Linked DNA regions of Homo sapiens: all the other regions are linked to region 4. Evidence: promoter capture Hi-C in 16 types of primary human blood cells and fetal thymus (Javierre and others, 2016). All regions are on one chromosome and are shown on one strand. Each heading gives the region's core, a stretch centred on a gene start or on the middle of the fragment in contact. The rest is flanking DNA. Distances are from core to core; before and after follow the strand shown. Region 1 overlaps UST (uronyl 2-sulfotransferase). Region 2 overlaps UST (uronyl 2-sulfotransferase). Region 3 overlaps UST (uronyl 2-sulfotransferase). Region 4 holds the start of PPIL4 (peptidylprolyl isomerase like 4). Region 5 overlaps UST (uronyl 2-sulfotransferase). Region 6 overlaps UST (uronyl 2-sulfotransferase).

Region 1 (3,337 bases), core at 562-3,061, 540 kb before region 4:
TTTCCTCTGATAGACCTTCCTGTAGCAAAGAAGCATGAATAGCCCATACAGGGCTCCCAATCAAGATGGTATACTGAGTTCACACTCTCTTGACCCCAAATATATTGTAATGATTGATAGAATATAAAAAGAGGAAATCCAAAGGATTTACCAGCTTTATTATAAAATAAGAACATCCTCATGCATGGAGGAATTCCTGAGTGGTGAGCAATGATGAATCCACAGGCCAGCTGGGCTCTGGTCCAGAATCCAGTAGTGGCAGCCAGAAATAGGACAAGGTCAAGGAGACTAGAAGTGTCCTGGCCAACAAGAGGGCCAGACCAGGCTCAGTGCTTTAAACCAAGGCATGGGGTGAGAAGCCACACTTCCCCTCACTTTCCAAGTAAAGGAAGTTAAACGTAGCAACTGCTCATCTTCTGCCTGGAACTATGCCCTTATAAGAGGCTAGAGATATACAGAGGTGGAAAAACAAAACCACAAACTCACAAGTAAGAAGTGAACCAAACTATTTGCTCCTTTGTAAGCAAATGTGTAATATTCTCATTGCTCTCATAAGATGGGAAGTAAAACTAAGACCTGATTCTGGACTCAGGACCCGGGAGTCCGGATGGTAGAAGCCACAAAACCACTAGAATAAGACAGAGGGTGAGAAGGAGGAAGAAAGAGAGACAGGGAGAGGAGAGAGGCAGCAGAGAGAGGAAGAAGACGGAGACAGATTATGAATCTCCTACCCAAAATGAGCCTACAGACCATACATTCTAAGGAACATGGAAAAAAAATCCAATACCAAGAAAGGCAGGCAGCAAAATCTAGTACTGGAATATGAATACACTCCAGATGGCTTTAAGGAACAACCTGACAAAGTCTTTAAAATAAGTGTGCCTAGGATGTTTGAAAAGACAAAAGAATGAATAGCTTCCATTTAAAAAGAGCAGAAAATTGTAAGAGAGACATGAAACAAGGACATGAGGATATCTTTAAAATAATTAAGTAAAATGAAAAATATGGTTATTGAAGTAAAAATTTAATAGATAAGTTCTAAGCTAAATAAAGTTAAAGAGAATATTAATTGATTTAGAAAATAGTCAAGAGGAATTCACCAAGAATGGAATTCAGAAACAGATAGACAGATAGAGCAGTTAAGAGACATGGAAAAAATATTGTAAAGTTTCAACAGGCATCTGATAGGAGATCCAGAAAAAAGAGAATAGAAAAATGTTAGGGAAGAAATATTTGAAGCAATTAAAGGACAAAATATTCCAAAATTGGAGATGATTCTTTTTTTTTTTTTTTTTGAGACAGAGTCTTGCTCTGTCACCCAGGCTGGGGTGCAGTGGCATGATCTCGACTCACTGCAAGCTCTACCTCCCAGGTTCATGCCATTCTCCTGCGTCAGCCTCCTGAGTAGCTGGGACTGCAGGCACCTACCACCACGCCTGGCTAATTTTTTTGTATTTTTAGTAGAGTCAGGGTTTTACCATGTTAGCCAGGATGGTCCTGATCTCCTGACCTCGGATCTGCCCACCTTGGCCTCCCAAAGTGCTGGGATTATAGGCATAAGCCACCGCGCCTGGCCTGGAGATGTGATCCTTCATACTAAAAGTACACTGGGAGTACTGAACAGATTAAACAAATTTAAATATTCACACAAGTATTTTAGAGTGAAACTGAAGATATCAAGGAAAAGGAAGCAAAGCAGATGACCAATGAAGGAATCATAGTTAGGCTCATAGCAGACTTCTTGTCAGCAACAATAGATATCAGATGACAGTACAGTAATATCTTCAAAGTGTTGAGATAAAAAAATTGTGAACCTGGAATTTTATACCCAGCTAAACAATCATTCCACTGGCCTTTTTCAGACACAGAGAGTTTCCTACTTACTGAGTTCATTAAAAGCATTATTAAAAGATGAATTATGGGGGAAATTAAGGTACAAGGGCATAAAAAGCAACAGTGAACAGAGCTGTTGAGTAAAACAATGTTAGTAAAATGAGTTGAATATTAAGTGTTAAAAGTTGTTTGTATGTTAAAAAAAGATTACAATTAGGCAACTTTAAAAAGGTGAGTGGTGTTTAATGGATAAAGTTGCTAAAATTCATCTCCGATTTGGAGGAATATAAGAAAACCAAATTACTTCATGCTTTATTAGAAAAAATTTAATCAAGTTTGAATGTTAAAAAAAATTTAATGACTTTTCCATTTACTTATCTTTCTCATCATCTATTTACAAATGAATTTTTAAAATTCTTTGCCCTTCCTCAGACTCTCTCAGTAATGAAAGTATCTTAAGCTCCTTTGTTATTTTTATTTTCTTAAATTGTAAGAGTCATCCATGTGTTTGAAAAAAAATCTTACAATGTTAAAAAAAAAATGTAAGGGTAAAATGTAATCCTTAGATTCTAAAGCAGTAGAGGACAGGGAAGGGATATTATTAAAAACTCTATTAAACCAACAGAAGACATGAAAAGAAAAAAGATGCAGGAAAAAAAGAATAGCAAATTTTAAAAAACGCAATGTAAGGTGCAGAAATTAAGTATTTTAATCTCACTAAAAGTAAATGATTAAATTAATTTATTAAAAATAGAAAGGTTCATTTACTAAAAGTAGAGGCTGAAAATAATGAGACTGGAGAGAGTTACCAGTTAAAAACTAAATAAATTTAGTGTAGGAATAATAACATGATACATTTTTATTTTTACTTTTTATGTATTTATTTATTTATTTTTTGAGATGGTGTCTCACTCTGTCACCCAGGCTGGAGTGCAGTGGCGCAATCTCAGCTCACTGCAACCTCCGCCTCCCGGGTTCAAGCAATTCTCCTGTCTCAGCCTCTCGAGTAGCTGGGACTACAGGCACAGACCACCACGCCCAGCTAATTTTTGTATTTTTACTAGAGGTGGGGTTTCACCATATTAGTCAGGCTGGTCTCGAACTCCTGACCTCAGGTAATCCACCTGCCTCAGCATCCCAAAGTGCTGGGATTACAGGCGTGAGCCACTGCGCCTGGCCGTATGACACATTTTAATATAAGGCAAAGGCATTAATTTTAAAAAATCATAAAAATAATGAGAACTACCAAGAAGATATTCTATATAAGTATTAGCATAGTTACATATTATAAACTACAAATAAAGGAAAATCAATCCAGTTATTCATTGGTCGCTTAAAGCCAGAGTGCTTACTGTGATGCCTTATGTACAGTAGATGCCTTAATTCATAATGTAATTAAAGAATCTTGGCATTCATTGGTTGGAGATTCCAGTTTGAATTGTTGAAACACAATGAGTGAATCATTTTGAACTACCCTAAATTAAGAATCTCTGAAATAAAATTG
Region 2 (3,510 bases), core at 913-3,412, 780 kb before region 4:
TTTCTTTATCCAGTCATCTGTTGATGGACAGTTAGTTTCATTCCCTGACTTTGCTGTTGTGAATAGTGCTATGATAAACATACAAGGGCAGGTGTTTATTTGATAGAATGATTCTTTTCCTTCCCGTAGATACCCAGTAGTGGGATTGCTGGGTCGAATGGTAGTTCGATTTTTAGTTCTTTGAGAAATCTCCATACTGTTTTCCACAGAGGTTGTACTAATTTACATTCCCACTAACAGTGTGTACATGTTCCCATTTCTCCCCATCCTTGCCAACATCTGTTGTTTTTTGACTTTTTAATACTAGTCATTCTGACTGGTGTGAGATGGTATCTCATTGTGGTTTTAATTTGCATTTCTCTGATAATTAGTGATACTGAGCATTTTCTCCTTTGTATTTTTGTGGGCTGCTTGTATATCTTCTTTTGAAAAATGTCTGTTCATGTCCTTTGCCCACTTTTTAATAGGGTTATTTGCTTTTTTCTTGTTGAGTTATTTGAGTTCCTTGTATAGATTCTGGATATTAGTCCTTTGTGGGATGCATTTTTGCAAATATTTTCTCCCTTTCTGCAAGTTGTTTGTTTACTCTGTTGATTCTTTCTTTGCTGTACAGAAGCTCTTTAGTTTAATTAAGTCCCTTTTGTTTATTTTTGTTTTTGTTGCATTGCTTAGCCATATATTCTTTGCCCAGGCCAATGTTCAGAAGAGTTTTTCCTAGGTTTTCTTCTAGGATTCTTATAGTTTCAGGTTTTACCTTTAAGTCTTTAATTCATCTTGAGTTAACTTTTTATATGGTAAGAAAAGGGGTCCAGTTTCATTCTTCTGCATATGGCTGTCCAATTTTTCCAGCACCACTTATTGAATAGGGTATCCTTTCCCCATCGTATATTTTTGCCAACTTTGTTTATGATCAGTTGGTTGTAGGTAAGCGGCTTTATTTCTGGGTTCTCTACTATCTTCTATTGCTCTATATGTCTGTTTTTGTACCAGTACCATGCTGTTTTGGTTACTATAGTCTTGTAGTATAATTTGAATTCAGATAATGCTATCCCTCCAGCTTTGTTCTTTTTGCTTAGGATTGCTTTGACTATTCAGGGTCTTTTTGGTTCCATATGAATTTTAGGATTGTTTTTTCTAATTCTGTGAAAATGACATCGGTAATTTGATAGGAATTGCATGTAATCTATATGTTACTTTGGATAGTATGGGCATTTTAATGATATTGATTCTTCCAATCCACATGCTTGGGATGCTTTTCCATTTGTTTGTGTCATCTACAGTTTTTTTAATCAATGTTTTATAATTCTTGTGGAGATTTTTCACCTCCTTGGTTAAATGCATTCCTAGGAGTTTTATTATTTTTTGTGGCTATTGTAAATGATATTGAGTTCTTGATTTGGCTCTCAGCTTGAACATTATTGGTGTATAGAAATGCTGATTTTTGTACATTGATTTTGTGTCCTGAAACTTTACTGAAGTAATTTATCAAATCTAGAAGTCTTTTGGAGGAGTCTTTAGGGTTTTCTAGGTATAAGATCATGTCATCAGCCAACAGAGATAATTTGACTTCCTCTTTTCTAATTTGGATGCCTTTTATTTCTTTCTCTTGCTATCAGGGGAACCCACCCCCGATAATTCAACGTGGGTTCTTTTCTATTTCCTTAAGTGTCGGCCGGTCTGAGAAATAAAGGGAAAGAGTACAAAAGAGAGAAATTTTAAAGCTGGGTGTCCGGAGGAGACATCACATGTCGGCAGGTTCCATGATGCCCCCTGAGCTGTAAAACCAGCAAGTTTTTATTAGCAGTTTTCAAAGGGGAGGGAGTGCATGAATAGGGTGTGGGTCACAGAGATCACATGCTTCAAGGGCAACAAAAGGTCACAAGGCAGAAGGTCAGGGCGAAACTAGAATCACTAATGAACTTCCATGTCCTGCTGTGCACACAATGTCAGGGTTCAAGAGCAGAGAACCGGTCTGACTAGAATTTGACAGGCTGGAATTTCCTAATCCTAGCAAGCCTGGGGGTGCTGCAGGAGACTAGGGTGTGTTTCATCCCTATCTATATCTGCATAAGGCAGACACTCCCAGGGCACCCATTTTAGAGGCCCCGCCCTAGGAATGCATTCTTTTCCCAACGCTGTTAATTATTAATATTCCTTACTGGGGAAAGAATTTAGCGGTATTTCTCTTACCCATTTTGGGTAATAAGAGAAAGGCAGCCAGACTTTAAGGTTATCTCCCTTGTTCCCTGAAAATCGCTGTTATCCTGTTCTTAAGGTGCCCAGATTTCATATTGTTCAAACACCACTTATTGTTTCAGCACCACTTATTGAATAGGGTATCCTTTCCCCATTGTATATTTTTGCCAACTTTGTTTACGATCAGTTGGTTGTAGGTATGTGGCTTTATTTCTGGGTTCTCTACTGTCTTCTATTGCTCTATATGTCTGTTTTTGTACCAGTACCATGCTGTTTTGGTTACTATCATCTTGTAGTATAATTTGAATTCAGATAATGCTATCCCTCCAGCTTTGTTCTTTTTGCTTAGGATTGCTTTGACTATTCAGGGTCTTTTTGGTTCCATATAAATTTTAGGATTGTTTTTTCTAATTCTGTGAAAAATGACATCGGTAATTTTCAAACACACATGCTCTACAAACAATTTGTGTAGTTAATACAATCGTCACAGGGTCCTGAGGTGACATACATCCTCAGCTTACGAAGATGATGGGATTAAGAGATTAAAGTAAAGACAGGCATAGGAAATCATGAGAGTATTGATTGGGGAAGTGATAAATGTCCATGAAATCTTCACAATTTATGTTCAGAGATTGTAGTAAAGACAGGCATAAGAAATTATAAAAGTATTAATTTGGGGAACTAATACATGTCCATGAAATCTTCACAATTTATGTTCTTCTGCCTTCAGCCTGTCCCTCCGTTCGGGGTCCCTGACTTCCTGCAGCATCTTGCCTAATTGCTCTGGCTAGGACTTCTACTATTATGTTGAATAGTGTAGTGGGAGTTGGCATTCTTGTCTTGTTCCAGTTCATAGGGGAAGTTCTTTTAAATTTTCTCCATTCAGTATGATGTTGGCTGTGGGTTTGTCCTATATGGCTTTTATTATTTTGAGGTATGTTCCTTTGATGCCTAGTTTGTTGAGGGCTTTTATCATGAAAAGATGTTAGATTTTATGGAATGCTTTTTCTGCAGCTGTTGAGATGATCGTATGGTTTTGGTTAGGCTTATATCTTCATACTTCATTTGTTTTATGGCATAATGCGTTTCTGTGCCAAAATATAGCCTCTCTTCCCCAGATTTTTTCCCTGTCACCTTGTCAGAATGATAGTTGACTTTGTTAATTGCAGAGTAAGTCTTGCTCACAAGGCTTATTCTTCATTGAAGTCTCACATCAATGAGCCTTAAAGGATCAGAGACACATGTTCTCCTATCACTCTCACCCACTCACCCACTTGCTCTCACCCACTCACCCACTTGCTCTCACCCACGCAC
Region 3 (3,475 bases), core at 502-3,001, 530 kb before region 4:
TCATTCAGTATCTATTGCACTCCTGCTTTAGTCCAGGCAGGGTGCTGAGCACTGGAGATGCAGTGAACAGTCTGTGCTCTGAGGGACCTACAACCTAAACAAATAAGCACACAAGTACTTGCTCAAGGGCAGCTCTGGAGAAGCAGCAGGTGCCATGAGAGCCTCTGTAGGAGGCTCTGGCGGTCTCTGATGCCCTGCTCCTCCTGTTAATGCAGGACTCTGGGGGGCTGACTGCGTATGTGACAGTTCTTTGGATGTTCCCCATCACTTTACTCCGTCCTTCTTTGTGAAATCTCGACCTCAGCAGATGAACACTGTCCTGGCCAGAATCACCCTAGGCTCTGCTTCTCACCCAGCTCCTGGCCCCCTCCCTGTTGCCACTGCTGCAGAGGGAGGCCACCAGGGTTATTGGGTCCCTCGGACTAAAGGCTCAGGTTCCAAGGGGAGGCCAACTACCAGAGGACACCCTCAAATGTGAGCAGGGCAGGGGGCTCAGAGCATCCTCAAGGCAAAGCACAGGCACCCGCCCGCACAAGCTTTGGTTTGTTTCACAGTGTGTAAATCTCTGTACAGTTTTCTCACAATAAATGTAAGATGCAGCCGGGCACAGTGGCTCACGCCTGTAATCCCAGCTCTTTGGGAGGCCGAGGCGGGCGGATCATGAGGTCAGGAGATGGAGACTATCGTGGCTAACACGGTGAAACCCCATCTCTACTAAAAATACAAAAAATTAGCCGGGTGTGGTGGCGGGCACCTGTAGTCCCAGCTACTCGGGAGGCTGAGGCAGGAGAATGGCGTGAACCCGGGAGGTGGAGCTTCCAGTGAGCCGAGATCACGCCACTGCAGTCCAGCCTGGGGGACAGCAAGACTCTGTCTCAAAAAAAAAAACAAAAAAAGTAAGATGCGTACATTGTAATAAAAGCTAACACTTCAAAAAAGGAATAAGGAAAAATTCAGTATATTCTCATCTTCCTTTATGCCAACCACCAGAAAAAACTGCTTTCAATCGTGTGCTGTGTCTCCTTCCAGATCCTTTTGTGTTTATGTAAACATGTTGATTTTTATATTGTCCTACATGTTTATATTGTCCTGTAGTCTATACTTTCATTCACTTGAAAATTTATCCAAGACTTTTCAGGATAGCACACACAGATCCTTCTCATTTTTTCCAGGTATCCAGTATTTCAGTGTGTGAATGTACCATAATTTCTCTTAAAACCAATCCCCCGTTCGTGAACATGTAAATTCTGCCATATTTTGTTGTAATAAATAAACTCATTGCAGCAATGAATATCCATATATACACACACACACACACACACACACACACACACACACACATCTGTCAGTGTCAAACTCTTCTTAGAAAGGTATTTCAGGTCTAGTGTCTTGCATTTTAATGGGTTTTCATACACAATGAGATGCTCTTAATCACCCTCACCACATGGCTGGACAGACATATGCACCCCCCTATTCACTTCTCATATGTTCCTCCCTGGAAACTGCACCTCCGCCTCTCATGGTAAACTCAAGTGCTTGAGTACTCTCAATTGTGTTTTTTGCAGATTCTGTTTATTTCCGTTGAATTTGTTATTGTAATTGTGTAATTTACTTAATTGGCATATAAACTGAAGAAGTATGAGGGGATTATTGTTTTTAAGAAAAAGCATAAATTATATTTCTCTCATTCCCAATTTGAACTAAAAAAATTGTTACTAGCTAAACACCCACACCTAAACACCTACACCCACACATGTATATCAGATACAGTAGCTTCTACCGACTCATAATTTCATCAACCATATTTGGGAGTTGTGTCCAGTCTTAATCTGCCTTGCCAGTATAGTCTCTGGAAAAACATCCTACAGCTGTTTGGTTTATTTGTAGATTGAGTTATCTTTTCTCCTTAGAAATACCTGAGAATGAGGCATGTCTTATTTAGAATCTCTAATATGATCTACCTTGATAAAAGTTGGTTTTGAGCCCTTCTGCTTACCCCCACCAAGCCATTTCAAGCTCTGGTAACGCCCTCAGAAACACCATGTCCAACCTCATATAAGAGAAATGGAAAACCTGGACGTCACAACTGTTGCCTTTGAAAGTGAGAGGGTGTCTGTATATAAACATCCTGCTACTTTTTAAGCTAATATAGTGTTAGAAGTGATTTTACAGCTCCTCTAAAATTTGCAAACTCTTATGAGACTATTGTAGGTACTTAGTTGTTGGATGCATGGATACACAGAGAAGCCCTAAATTCATGCAACAAACATTTATTAATTGCCAACTGTATACCTACTAATTGGCTGGCAACTGGTGGCGCCACCACGAAGCACAGTGGGTACCACTGTTCTCCCAAGGCCTGTGACCAAACTTAAGACTCGGAGCCACCAGGAAGTGCAGAGATGCAGTTTACTCAACAGAGCATGCACTCTCTAAAATGGCCCAGCCCTGTGTGTGCCTGGCCAGTGGAGCAGGATGCTGGGAGGCAAAAAATAAGTTTTCTCATGAAATCTGTGAATTCTCTTCATCTTCTCAAGGCGTGCCTGTGTAATTCAATCATGAATTTTACTTAAACTGTGTGGCATTTGATAGAGCCTTGCAGAGACTACAAGACATCTGACTGCTGTATTTTCTCTTCTAGGATATCAATGAGTGTATTCTTGAAAACTATCCCGAGTGCTCCAACCCCAGGTTATTTTACATCATTCCGTACTTTTGTGGACAGCATCCCAGATGCAGGTAAGGGCTAAAGCAGGGTCATGGCATGCACGTACGCACAACAAGGGCAAGAACCCCACCAGCCTGGTACTCGGTGGGAATCTTTTGTATCCCTAGTCTCTCAACCTTCTGGAATTCAGTTCCTGTTTACTATTAATCTTTCAAGATAATATTTGAGACTCCAAATGTCCTATAAATAATGAAATTTAAAAATCAGGGTCTGTAGAGGCCTCAGGAGACCACCATATAAAGCTTTGTAACTGGAACCAAACCCTTGTTTATACCTAAAACATACTTGTCACTACTCATCCCATGTTGTTTGTCTTTCTCTTTGGATAAAATGACAAAATGTCACATAAAATGTGATCGTGAAGACCAGGAGCGAACACCCAGCCTGCTCCTGTACAGTGACTGACTTAACCAACAACCTGCCCTCGTAGCATGTGTCACTGGGTCTGAGACACTGGAAGCCCACACCTCAATCCCATAGTGGATATACTTAGTAGGCAGAGAAGAAAGTGTTTTATAATGATCACCTGTCAACCTTACTTGAAGGCACAACCTTCTTTAGAGAGTGACTTACTCAGATAGTCAGGACCCCCAGGGTGTGATCTGCCCAGGTCCTGCATCAGCACCCCTGTATACTTGTTAAGAACCCCCACCCAATCATAGTCTCGTGTGTAGCAGCCTCCCCAGATGCTTCTGGCGTAGCTATAGTTGAAATCTACTGTGCTAGACAAATGTCATAGCCTGGAGA
Region 4 (3,274 bases), core at 648-3,147:
GCCCATTTATTTTGCCAGGTGCTACTCTACATGGGCAGAGCGTCAAAGGAACTCAAAGAAAAGCAAAATCAAGAGATAAAAAACAAAATTCCCTATGATATTCTTTGAAACACTCGATCCAGCCACTCGATCCAAGCTTACCCCAGTATTATGAGGCAACCAATTATTTTGTTTATGCCAGTTTGAGTTGGGTTTCTATCACTTGAACAAAGGGTCCTAACTAATACAACACATTTATATCCATTAGTCATCATAATGAACCTCTAGTGTGTGCCCTAAAAGTAGCAGACATTGTACTGGGTACTCAGGATATAGAGATGATAATTATGGTATAGTTCCTGCTCTCATTGGAGTTTACATTCTTGAGCGAGGGCACGCTTGTAAACAACACCAGGATAATAGGTAAATGTTAAAATAAAATGTGTCATGTGGTTTATAAAAGACCTAAGACACAGCAGAGGAACCCTCAGGTAACTCTGCTTAGAAAGGAGGGAGAGCTTCAAAGAAGAGATGATGCTTGATCTGAGATTTAGATAATAAGTAGTAAGTTTGCCAGAAGGACAATAGTGGAGAAGAATATTGTTTAGAAGAAACAGCAAAAGAATGGTAACAATGGTACGGGAGAGTTTGTAGTGTTTTCGCCAGGTGGAGAGGAGGGAGGAATAGCTGCGTGCGAGGGAAAGCGGAGCACGGCAGGAGGTAGTTATTGTACAATATTGCAACTTATTTCACCTTCTTTGATAGGCTCTGCATTCCATGTGGGTAGGACCCTGTTTGTAACTAATCTCTCCTGGTCTCAGTTTCTTCCTGACTCTGATACATTCTCCACACCGCTGCCTATTATCTTCTCAAAACAAGTATGCCATGCCTCAATCCTGCTTTTAAAGTCTTCAAGGACTCTGATCATCAGTAGGGCACACAAGACTATTCACGACTGACCTAGGCGTATCTGACCACACTCGAGTCTACCATTCCACGACTCACACCAGTCCTTCCAGCCACACCAAACTACTTGCCGTTTCCAGAAAATTCCAAACAAAGAAAGTCCAAGCTAAGAAAACCCTCATTCCCATTCATCTTTGAAAGAACTAGTTCAAGTGTTCTATATAGTATTCGCTAGCTTTGCTTCTTCCCACCCCCCACCAAAGAAGCCGCCCTCTTCTGGTTTCCGTGGCAACTTACACATTCTTCTACCATAACACATAGAAAACTAAAATGGGTTCCTGTGTCTACTTCCCCCAGTGGAAAAATCAGACCCTCGGGGGCAAGAAGCCAAGCCCAGGACTTAGCCCAGTGCCTCGAAGGCTCAGTCCACACTCCAGACAACCTCTTCCTCCTCCACCTAAGCGGTATGCCCACACTCGCTGCGCCAAGCACACCCTAACTGCCTTCATCAAGATTTAACCGATTACACACCAAGCAATAGTTCCTATGTTCCTCTCACGAGTAAACACAATAAAGGCACAAAAGCTATGGGTATTGTATGTGCAGCTCGAATCACACACACACACGCCCCACACACACACTCCCAAAGGCAATTAATGACCGCAAGCACCGTCCACCGGACTGGCCAACACAAAATACGGGAGAAGGGCTGCCAAGGCTCAAACGAATTCCCGTCACAAAAACTTTTCTAGCCAAGGCCGGTTAATAAAATAGCCCAGTCGCGGGCACCAGCAGCCCAGAAGCTCGAGCTCTAGCCAATCTCTGCCCTGGACTGCGCAGAGAAGGGAAAGTAGGGAGACAAGCTCGGGGGCCCCGGCGACAGGTGAGTGGGGCTCAAGCCTCACCACGCGGCCGTTCTTCGGTGTACAAGTCGATGACGACGTCGCCTAAAGTGGTCTCCAGTAGAACCGCCATGGCGCCCGCTCCTCCTCCGCTACAAACCCCGGGAGGAGGGGGGTGACAGGCGCAGGCCGACGGCGTCGTCTACGCCACGCGTCACCCTCGGCGCGACCCCTTTTGCGTCATCTCGCCGGCGCCGCCCCCGGTTCCGAGCAGTTCCTTCCGGTCGGCGTGCGGGCGCCGGGCTGCCCAGCTGACTTACGGATCGGGTTGGTCCCGCCCCCGGCGCGGCCGTTTTGAAAATCCTGGTCCGCCCTTGGCGATTTTGGTGGAAGCCTGTCCCTCAGAACGGTCTCAGTATAGTGTTTTGTGCCCCGTTTGTGTCCGTCTCAAGAGCAGAGCGGCCCTCCGCGCGGCCCTTTTATCCACCAGGGGGCGCCCGCGGCGGGATCTTCTCTCCACCTATTTGGGCGGACTCCTCCGGGTTTCCTCGTCAGTCTCCTTTTCGCAAAACAACTTTGGGCCTCTACTAGGGGTTTCCGATTCTAAGAACTAACATTTTGTTTTGTTTTCTGTTTTGAGACAGGGTCTCGCTCTGTTGCCCAGGCTGGAGTGCAGTGGCGCGATGTCGGCTCACTGCAACCTCCACCTCCCGGGCTCCAGCGATTTTCCTGTCTCAGCCTCCCAAGTGACCACAGGCGCGCGCCACCACGCCCGGCTAATTTTGTTCTTTTATTTTTTGTAGAGATGGCGGTCGGGGGAGGTGGTCTCACTATGTTGCTCAGACTGGTCTCAAACTCCTGAGCTCAAGGAGTTCGAACTCTTCCCGCCTTGGCCTCCCGAAGTGCTGAGATTACTGGCGTGAGCCACTGCGCCTGGCCAAAACTAACATTTTGCCATGCAAGTTTATTCCCCAGACACTCTTCTGGGCAAGCCTGTCACTCTTTCTTATGACATTTTACACATAATCTCCAATAACTTCACATCTGACGAAAAGCCAAAGCTTTTTTTTTTTTTTTTTTTTTTGAGACGGAGTCTCGCTCTGTCGCCCAGTCTAGAGTGCAGTGGCGCGATCTCGGCTCACTGCAAGCTCCGCCTCCCGGGTTCACCCCATTCTCCTGCCTCCGCCTCCCGAGTTGCTGGGGCTACAGGTGTCCGCCATCACGCCCGGCTAATTTTTTGTGTTTTTAGTAGAGACCGGGTTTCACCGTGTTAGCCAGGATGGTCTCGACCTCCTGACCTCGTGGATCCGCCCGCCTCCGCCTCCCAAAGTGCTGGGATTACAGGCTTGAGCCACCGCACCTGGCGGAAAAGCCAGAGCTTTTATAATGATTTACAAGATCCTCTCCTACCCCATCCTACGCCATCTTCTTATTCCTCTGAAGCCACAGTAGACAGTTTGCTATTCCCTGAACACTGCTGACATACTCCTGCCCCATGGCCTTTTCACTTGCCTTGGTTGAGGGACCTCTTCCTCCAGTTATTTGTA
Region 5 (3,395 bases), core at 472-2,971, 580 kb before region 4:
TTTAGTTTTTATGGCGAAACCCTAATCTATTTCTTTATAGGTTATGAGGCCGGGCGCAGTGGCTCACGCCTGTAATCCCAGCACTTTGGGAGGCCGAGGCAGGTGCATCACTTGAGGCCAGGAGATCGAGACCAGCCTGGCCAACATGGTGAAAACCTGTCTTTATTAAAAATACAAAAATTAGCCGAGCATGGTGGCGCATGCCTGTGATCCCAGCGAATTGGGAGGCTGAGGCAGGAGAATCCTTTGAATCCGGGAGGCAGAGGTTGCAGTGAGCCAAGATCGTGCTACTGCACTCCAGCCTAGGTGCCAGACCGAGACTCCATCTCAAAAAATAATAATAATAATAATTAAATAAAATAAAAAACTATAGGTTATGAATATGACTATATGTTTTTTATTTGGTGAGACGTGTATTCAGAGTATAGAAACACTACAAGAATAATGTCTTCTCTAATTATCTTTATTATTTGTTTTGGATCTTGATTAATATATCTATATGCTCTTTAAAAACAGCATACATTCCATTTAATCCAGACAATTTTTTCATAGTTCTGATTCAATCCTCATGCTAAGAAAGTTAGAACCAAAGGACAGCAGAAAATGCCAAAAAACCAACAATACAGAAACACGTCTTATGAACACTACTCTTCAAATATTAATGTAAGAGTTAAGAGGAATGCTCTAGCTTCTTCCGTTCTGTCAAGCTTCTGTTGCCATCCTGTAAATCATTTCATATAATGCAGTTTTCACACACTCACACAAATAATAAGCTGCAATCATTAGAGAGAAAGGTGGCAAATGTGAGGGGAAAAAATTATGGTTTGGAGTTTCCATTTGTTCGTTTTTGTTTTTGTTTTGAGACACAGTCTTGCTCTGTTGCCCAGGCTGGAGCGCAGTGGCAAGATCTCTGCTCACTGCAACCTCCACCTCCGGGGTTCAAGCGATTCTCCTGCTTCAGCCTCCCCAGCAGCTAGGACTACAGGTGCTTCCCACCACGCCTGGTTAATTTTTGTATTTTTAGTAGAGGCGGGGGTTTCACCATGTTGGCCAGGCTGGTCTCGAACTCCTGACCTAAAATGATCCACCCACCTCAGCCTCCCAAAGTGCTGAGATTACAGGTGTGAGCCACCGTGCCCAGCCTGGTTTGGAGTTTTTTTAAAAAGGTCATAAAATATTGAAAGTTGGTAGTTGGGGCAAGTGTTATATTTTTGAAGAGCTGGTAACTGCCTTTGTTATGTGACTTGAGAGATTGTAGAGAGATTTCCCTGCCTGGAATTCTGCCCTTAGAAATTTGTAGGGGCTCCTTTCCAAATGTAAGCACTGTGTTCGGGAAGGGTCTATGTCAGATGAGGTCATCAGATCGATCCTTGGCAAGGCCCCAGCAGGAAAGCACTGGGCTCCCCAAAGCAGCACAGCAGAAACTCGGGGGGGCTCAGATTCAAGAGAGGAGAGCCTGGTGGTGGGGGGGAGGGGTGTCCCCTTCATGATCTGGTTCCAGCCTGACCTGGTTAGAAGGCTGTCTTCTTGTTCAAAGGATAGTTTGTTTATTTGGAAGAAGATGGTCTATTGCCTTTTTTTAATAGCTGAAACTTTTAATTCCATCTCCTTGGTCCCATTAGACCCTTGAAATAAAATTGCCCCCTTTCAGAAGAGTCTGTCCTCATTTTGGCAAAGGCTGGGTAGTCAGTTGTTTGACTCAAAAGAGGGTGTTGTTTGTGTCTCAGCGGGGCGCAGGCAGCTGTGAGGAGCCCACTGTCCCCTCCTTGCCGGCCACCCCTCCCCTCGGAGGCCCTTCCCTGCACACCGCATGCCCACAGGGTCTTGGTTGCTGGCCTGAAATGAGTCTGCTGATTTACCACGTCATTCCAGATCTCAGTGCTCTAAAGCCCCTTGCTTTATCCCATTGCCAAAATTCGGGCAGTTCTGCCCCTGGCCCTGAGCCTCACAGAGCTGCTTAGCATACAGCTGGGAGTGGCCAGTGCCTGCCTCCAAGCCTGCTCTGAGGATGAAATAATATCATCTTGTGAGGCAGGGTGGTTTGGAAGAAAATGGAAAGGGTAAAGGAATCCTAGGATTTGCAGGAACCCCAAAGAGGATGAGGACTCTCTCATTTTACAGGTGTGGGAACGGGCCTGGGATTCGGGGTGGGGTAAAGTCCCTGCCAGGAGGAGAATCCAGACCTCCTGATTCCACTTCGGTGCTGTTTGCCCACTCAGACCTTATGTTCCTGAAGGGTAAAGGGAGAAGAGGACTGGGCCGAGTCCCACGCTTTTGAAGCAGAATCATTTGATGTAACATCGTCTCTCCATCTTTACAAAGACATCGCTGTTACAGCAATTTGTTTTCAAATATTCAAGCATCTTATAGCTATACCTTATTTTCTGGGAACAACTAGCTTTTCTCAAACTTTCTATTTCTTTCCAAACTCTTCTTCCTTTGCATTTCCTGGAAAATCATTTTTAAATAAATTAGTGCTCGCATAGATGCAAGTTCAACTTCTAGCAGCCATACTGTGAAAAGGCAGTTGTCTTAGGCTCATTTCTTTTTGTCCAGAGCTGGAAGCTCCCCAGTGTGGAGGTGGCTGCCTCCTTTTTGGGGGTGGGAGTCCTCTGAACCCAGGCACACTTGGACACATCCCAGCACCTGAGACTCTAATCCAGCTCATGTCCAGCCTCCTTTATTTCCAGGGTAGGGAAATACCTGGCACACAGACCATATTTAATGAATGGTGGAAAGCTTTTTCTAATGAAGAGCAACTGTTGTCATCTCCAGATGAGGGAGAGCATCTTATTCCTGCTGAAGCCACTCCCTTTTCCAGTCTTGGAGCTTCCATGAAAGTGGATTTCTTATGCTGTCATTTTCACCCTGCTGGTTACACATCAAGTTCTCAAAAATGTCAAATTGGGCTGCTGCCCTAACCATTATTGCCACTTCACTAGGCCATCCTCCATTTGAAGAATAGGAAGAAAAGGGAGAAAATCTTCCCAGAGAGAACACTGCCTCTGTGACACTGTTTATTCGGCTTGGCTGTAAAATGTGGAAAGTAATGCATGTTTAAAAGAAAAGATGTGTAATTTACAGCTTCTTAATTCATAAAGAATTCAGTGAATCATGTTGGCCCTGTTGGATTCTGGAGAAGTCTGAAAATTGGCCAGAGTCAGCAAAGGTTTTTAGAAAGCTATGCATTTTAATCTACTTGAAAGTTTTGGACTCTGAATGTCCTTTAACTTTGAAAGTATACATATGAAATACCAGCATGTGGAAATTTCCACTCTGTCCCAACCAGCTGAGACTGTCCTTTGAGCAAAAGAAACCTCAGGCATTGCCTCTATTTCTAAGGCATTGTTTTTCTTAAATAAATAAAATGAAGAAGGGCTTTGGATTGTCTGCTT
Region 6 (3,201 bases), core at 156-2,655, 560 kb before region 4:
AGAGTTAACTCCTGCTATCATGCTGCCAGCAAAGGCTGAGCCCTATGGGGTGTTTACCAGGAAAAGCGAATGTAGGAAATAAAATGTCAAGAAGAAATTTGTGAAGTACAAGAATGTCTGAAAAGAGCGTATGTTAAGTTCTGAAACAAAATGATAAAACTCAGAAGTGACAGCTGTTACCTAAACTTTTCCAATGTGTTGTTCACCAATCTACTTCTGAAGACAGCCTAGTGCAACCTCATTCCTTGTCCAGAAAAGGAGGACGTAGTCTTCAAGGTGACCAAATCACCATAGGAGACCCTATCACCACCACCCCCACATCACACAGTGTACACATGCATGTGTACAAACACACGATAACATCGATGCCAGTGGCTGAAATTTGACTTGTTCTTTTTTTAAAAAATTAAACTGTTCTTCCTGGGTTTTTTCCTTTAACTATAAATAAACCCGGTGGGTCTGGCATTTTGTTACCAACATCTTTTCAGGAACCTACCCATCTGCAACTGATTATTATATACATCATGTGCATAAATGTTTAGACTACTTATATTCAGATATGGTCAATTCCTTCATTCTTCCTTTCAACAAATGCACAGCACCTACTCTGTAGCCAGCCCTTTAGCAGATGTTGAGAATGCACTAATGAAAAACACAGATGTGGTTCTAGCCCTCCCAGAGTATATAATCTATCAGGGAAAACAGACATTAAACAAGTATTGGGAGAGATGATCAGGCTGTGGGAACAATACGTGCATAGGTCAAGGGTCCCAAGTACTGCAAGAATCTCATATGGATGAGAACAGGGGTGTGATATGAAAGCTGGAGAGGTGGGCAATAGATCAATCATCAAAGCCCTTAAAAAGATATTCTAAATATTTGAAGCTTTATGCTAAAGACAATAAAAAGTCCTAGACATCATGACATGATAGGATTTGCATTTATTTATTTATTTTTAATTAATTTGTTTTTTAGAGACGGGATCTCACTCTGTCTTGCAGGCTGGAGTGCAGTGGCACAATCATAGCTCACTGCAGCCTCAAACCCCTGGGCTCAAGCAATCCTCCCACCTCAGCCTGCCAAGTAGCTCGGGCTATAGGTGTGCACTACCCTAGCGAATGGGGCCTTGCTGTGTTTCCCAGGCTGGTCCTGACTCCTGGCCTTGAGCCATCTTTCTGCCTTGGCCTCCCAGAGTGCTGGGATTACAGGCATGAGCCACTGCACTCAGCCAAGATTTTCATTTAGAAAATCTTGCAAGGGGAGGATGTTTGGAGTAGAGCAAAATAAACTATTTTGGTTTGAAATAGGATTGTCATGGTACATGAGACCAAGAGGAATGGATAAAGACATGTCTATGTAATAAGATCAACAATTGTTTCATGAGTAATTGGCTATGGAGCTAAAGGATGAAGAGGCGTTCAGGATGATTCTAGGTTTCTAGTTGGAGTAAGCTGATGCAAGGTACTGCTGAGGGTAGGGAATAACGGGACGGATGTGCAGGAAAAATAAATTCTGCTTTGGATATGCTGAGTTTCAGGTGCTTGCAGTACATATGAATGGAGACACCCAGCAGGCAGAAAAGTGGGCTGTGCTGAATATGTGGAATTGGAAGTTATCAGTATCCAAAGAGAGGGTAATCAATCTACTAAAATATTCTGTGAAGGTTGAGATCATGTCTGGAACAATGTTGGTGCTCAGTAATTATCTGCTGAAGTTGTTGAATTAGAGCCATGGGGTGCGTATCAGGGATGAGGATAAAAGAGCCCAGAGTCACCCATTTTTTAGCACCAACTGAGGACTTTGAAGCAAAACAACAACAACAACAACAACAAAAACTGAACAAGAGTCCCAGGAAGAGTACAATATAGAGGTGTGGTGGTGTCAGAGAATCAGAGGAAAAAAGTTCTGAGAGGTTCATGACTGTCAGAAGCTTCAAGGAAGAATATCTAAAATGAGAATAGAAAACGTAACCATTAGATTTCTACTAATCTTGGCAAGAGCAGTTTCCATTTAGTGACAAGGGTAGAAGCAAGATGGATATGCAGATGGGGCAAGAAAGATGTGGAAAAAATGAAGATAGTGGTGGGGAAGTCTGGTCTGCATTGGCCTGGTGAGGCATGCAGAGGTATGCGTGGGATTGTCACGTTCTCTTTCAGGATCACTTACCAAAGGAAGAGGTAGGTCCTCAGAACCTAAAGCGCAAGGAGATTCCACATTACTCTTCTCTTAAAAAACAAATACTATTGAGCACATACCATATACACAACCTAAAGGGCTTCTTCAAGATGCAGATACCAAGATGAGATTGGATGTGCAAGAGATTTATTGGGGGAAATGCCTGTGAAGGGAAAAGGAGGCAGGAAGAGCCATCAAACCCATAGTAGATCTGATTCCTATAAAGAACAGGGGAAGGACTATTGGGTAAGGAGAGCCTCAGAACACAGTGTAGTTTTAAGAAAGTTTCAGTCAGGCCAAGGGGAAGTTGTCAGCCAAAGTCATTCATCAGAGGAGTCCTGTGTGTTGCAGGAATGGGCCTGCCTTAGACAACTTGTCACACTAGTCACTGCCTGATATTAGCCTACGGGAAGCATGCCCTTGGCACAAATGAGGTGATAAAATCGAACAAAGCAGCTGGGACCATTGGTTACTTACTCTTCCAGCAATGGGAGAGATTCATGGCTGCCACATATGTAATATCTCATTTAATTCTTACAGCATCCCCCTAAGATTGGTATTATTATACCTGTTTTGCAGATGAGATGCCAAGGATTACAGAGGTTAAGTAACTTGCCTCAGTTCATACCACTAGTAAGTAATAGAGCCTGGATTTCAGCTAGTGGTATGTTAGAGCTGGCTCAGACTAATCGAGTCAATTTTTTATTTTTAGGAATTGCGCTAGTCAGTTGACACAAAGACAGTAGCTTGAAAATTTGGCCATATAGGAGTATTTACAGCATGGAAATCTGCATATGCTACACATCAGTCCTTTGTTTGTTTGCTTGTTTCTGAAAAGATGGTTGTTAGGCATTTGCCGGTACACCACTGATTTGAAGCCAGGTCATCTGATGCTACAGCTGACTCTCCAACCTCTATGCTACAGACAATTGGCTTCATGATTCCCTGACACATTTCTGATGCAAAAAATTCCTGAAACCACCCTCCTCCTCGGAATCCCTGTGGAGAGCTTGCCATGCCCTGTAT

The links. The method cuts DNA at HindIII sites, captures the fragments that hold promoters and counts their contacts. A CHiCAGO score of 5 or more calls a contact.
Region 1: a contact is called between a fragment that was not itself captured here and the fragment with the promoter of PPIL4 in region 4, in 5 of 17 cell types (activated CD4 T cells, non-activated CD4 T cells, total CD4 T cells and 2 more). The highest score is 12.5, in activated CD4 T cells.
Region 2: a fragment that was not itself captured here is called in contact with the fragment with the promoter of PPIL4 in region 4 in 1 of 17 cell types (naive CD8 T cells); the score reaches 6.4 in naive CD8 T cells.
Region 3: a contact is called between a fragment that was not itself captured here and the fragment with the promoter of PPIL4 in region 4, in 8 of 17 cell types (activated CD4 T cells, non-activated CD4 T cells, total CD4 T cells and 5 more). The highest score is 18.6, in activated CD4 T cells.
Region 5: a contact is called between a fragment that was not itself captured here and the fragment with the promoter of PPIL4 in region 4, in 1 of 17 cell types (non-activated CD4 T cells). The highest score is 6.1, in non-activated CD4 T cells.
Region 6: a contact is called between a fragment that was not itself captured here and the fragment with the promoter of PPIL4 in region 4, in 1 of 17 cell types (non-activated CD4 T cells). The highest score is 5.3, in non-activated CD4 T cells.

What each region holds. Positions count from the first base shown.
Region 1 is chr6:148,999,795-149,003,131 of GRCh38, forward strand. All of the region lies in intron 5 of UST (uronyl 2-sulfotransferase), which reads left to right. Among named protein-coding and RNA genes, the nearest start is that of UST-AS2, 31 kb to the right of the region's middle. The HindIII fragment of the contact is 6,154 bases long and covers 1-3,337 here.
Region 2 is chr6:148,762,884-148,766,393 of GRCh38, forward strand. All of the region lies in intron 1 of UST (uronyl 2-sulfotransferase), which reads left to right. It overlaps LOC107986659 (a long non-coding RNA gene), which reads right to left. Exons shown (of 2, transcript XR_001744408.2): 1 at 1-3,510. Among named protein-coding and RNA genes, the nearest start is that of UST, 18 kb to the left of the region's middle. The HindIII fragment of the contact is 7,407 bases long and covers 1-3,510 here.
Region 3 is chr6:149,016,498-149,019,972 of GRCh38, forward strand. UST (uronyl 2-sulfotransferase) reads left to right here. Exons shown (of 8, transcript NM_005715.3): 6 at 2,642-2,739. Among named protein-coding and RNA genes, the nearest start is that of UST-AS2, 14 kb to the right of the region's middle. The HindIII fragment of the contact is 2,434 bases long and covers 535-2,968 here.
Region 4 is chr6:149,544,146-149,547,419 of GRCh38, forward strand. It overlaps PPIL4 (peptidylprolyl isomerase like 4), which reads right to left and starts at 1,898. Exons shown (of 13, transcript NM_139126.4): 1 at 1,791-1,898. The coding sequence starts at 1,860. RefSeq lists enhancers at 1,788-2,087, 2,791-3,274. The HindIII fragment of the contact is 2,652 bases long and covers 135-2,786 here.
Region 5 is chr6:148,965,895-148,969,289 of GRCh38, forward strand. The region is part of intron 5 of UST (uronyl 2-sulfotransferase); the gene reads left to right. Among named protein-coding and RNA genes, the nearest start is that of UST-AS1, 2.9 kb to the left of the region's middle. The HindIII fragment of the contact is 2,032 bases long and covers 706-2,737 here.
Region 6 is chr6:148,983,579-148,986,779 of GRCh38, forward strand. The region is part of intron 5 of UST (uronyl 2-sulfotransferase); the gene reads left to right. Among named protein-coding and RNA genes, the nearest start is that of UST-AS1, 20 kb to the left of the region's middle. The HindIII fragment of the contact is 1,045 bases long and covers 884-1,928 here.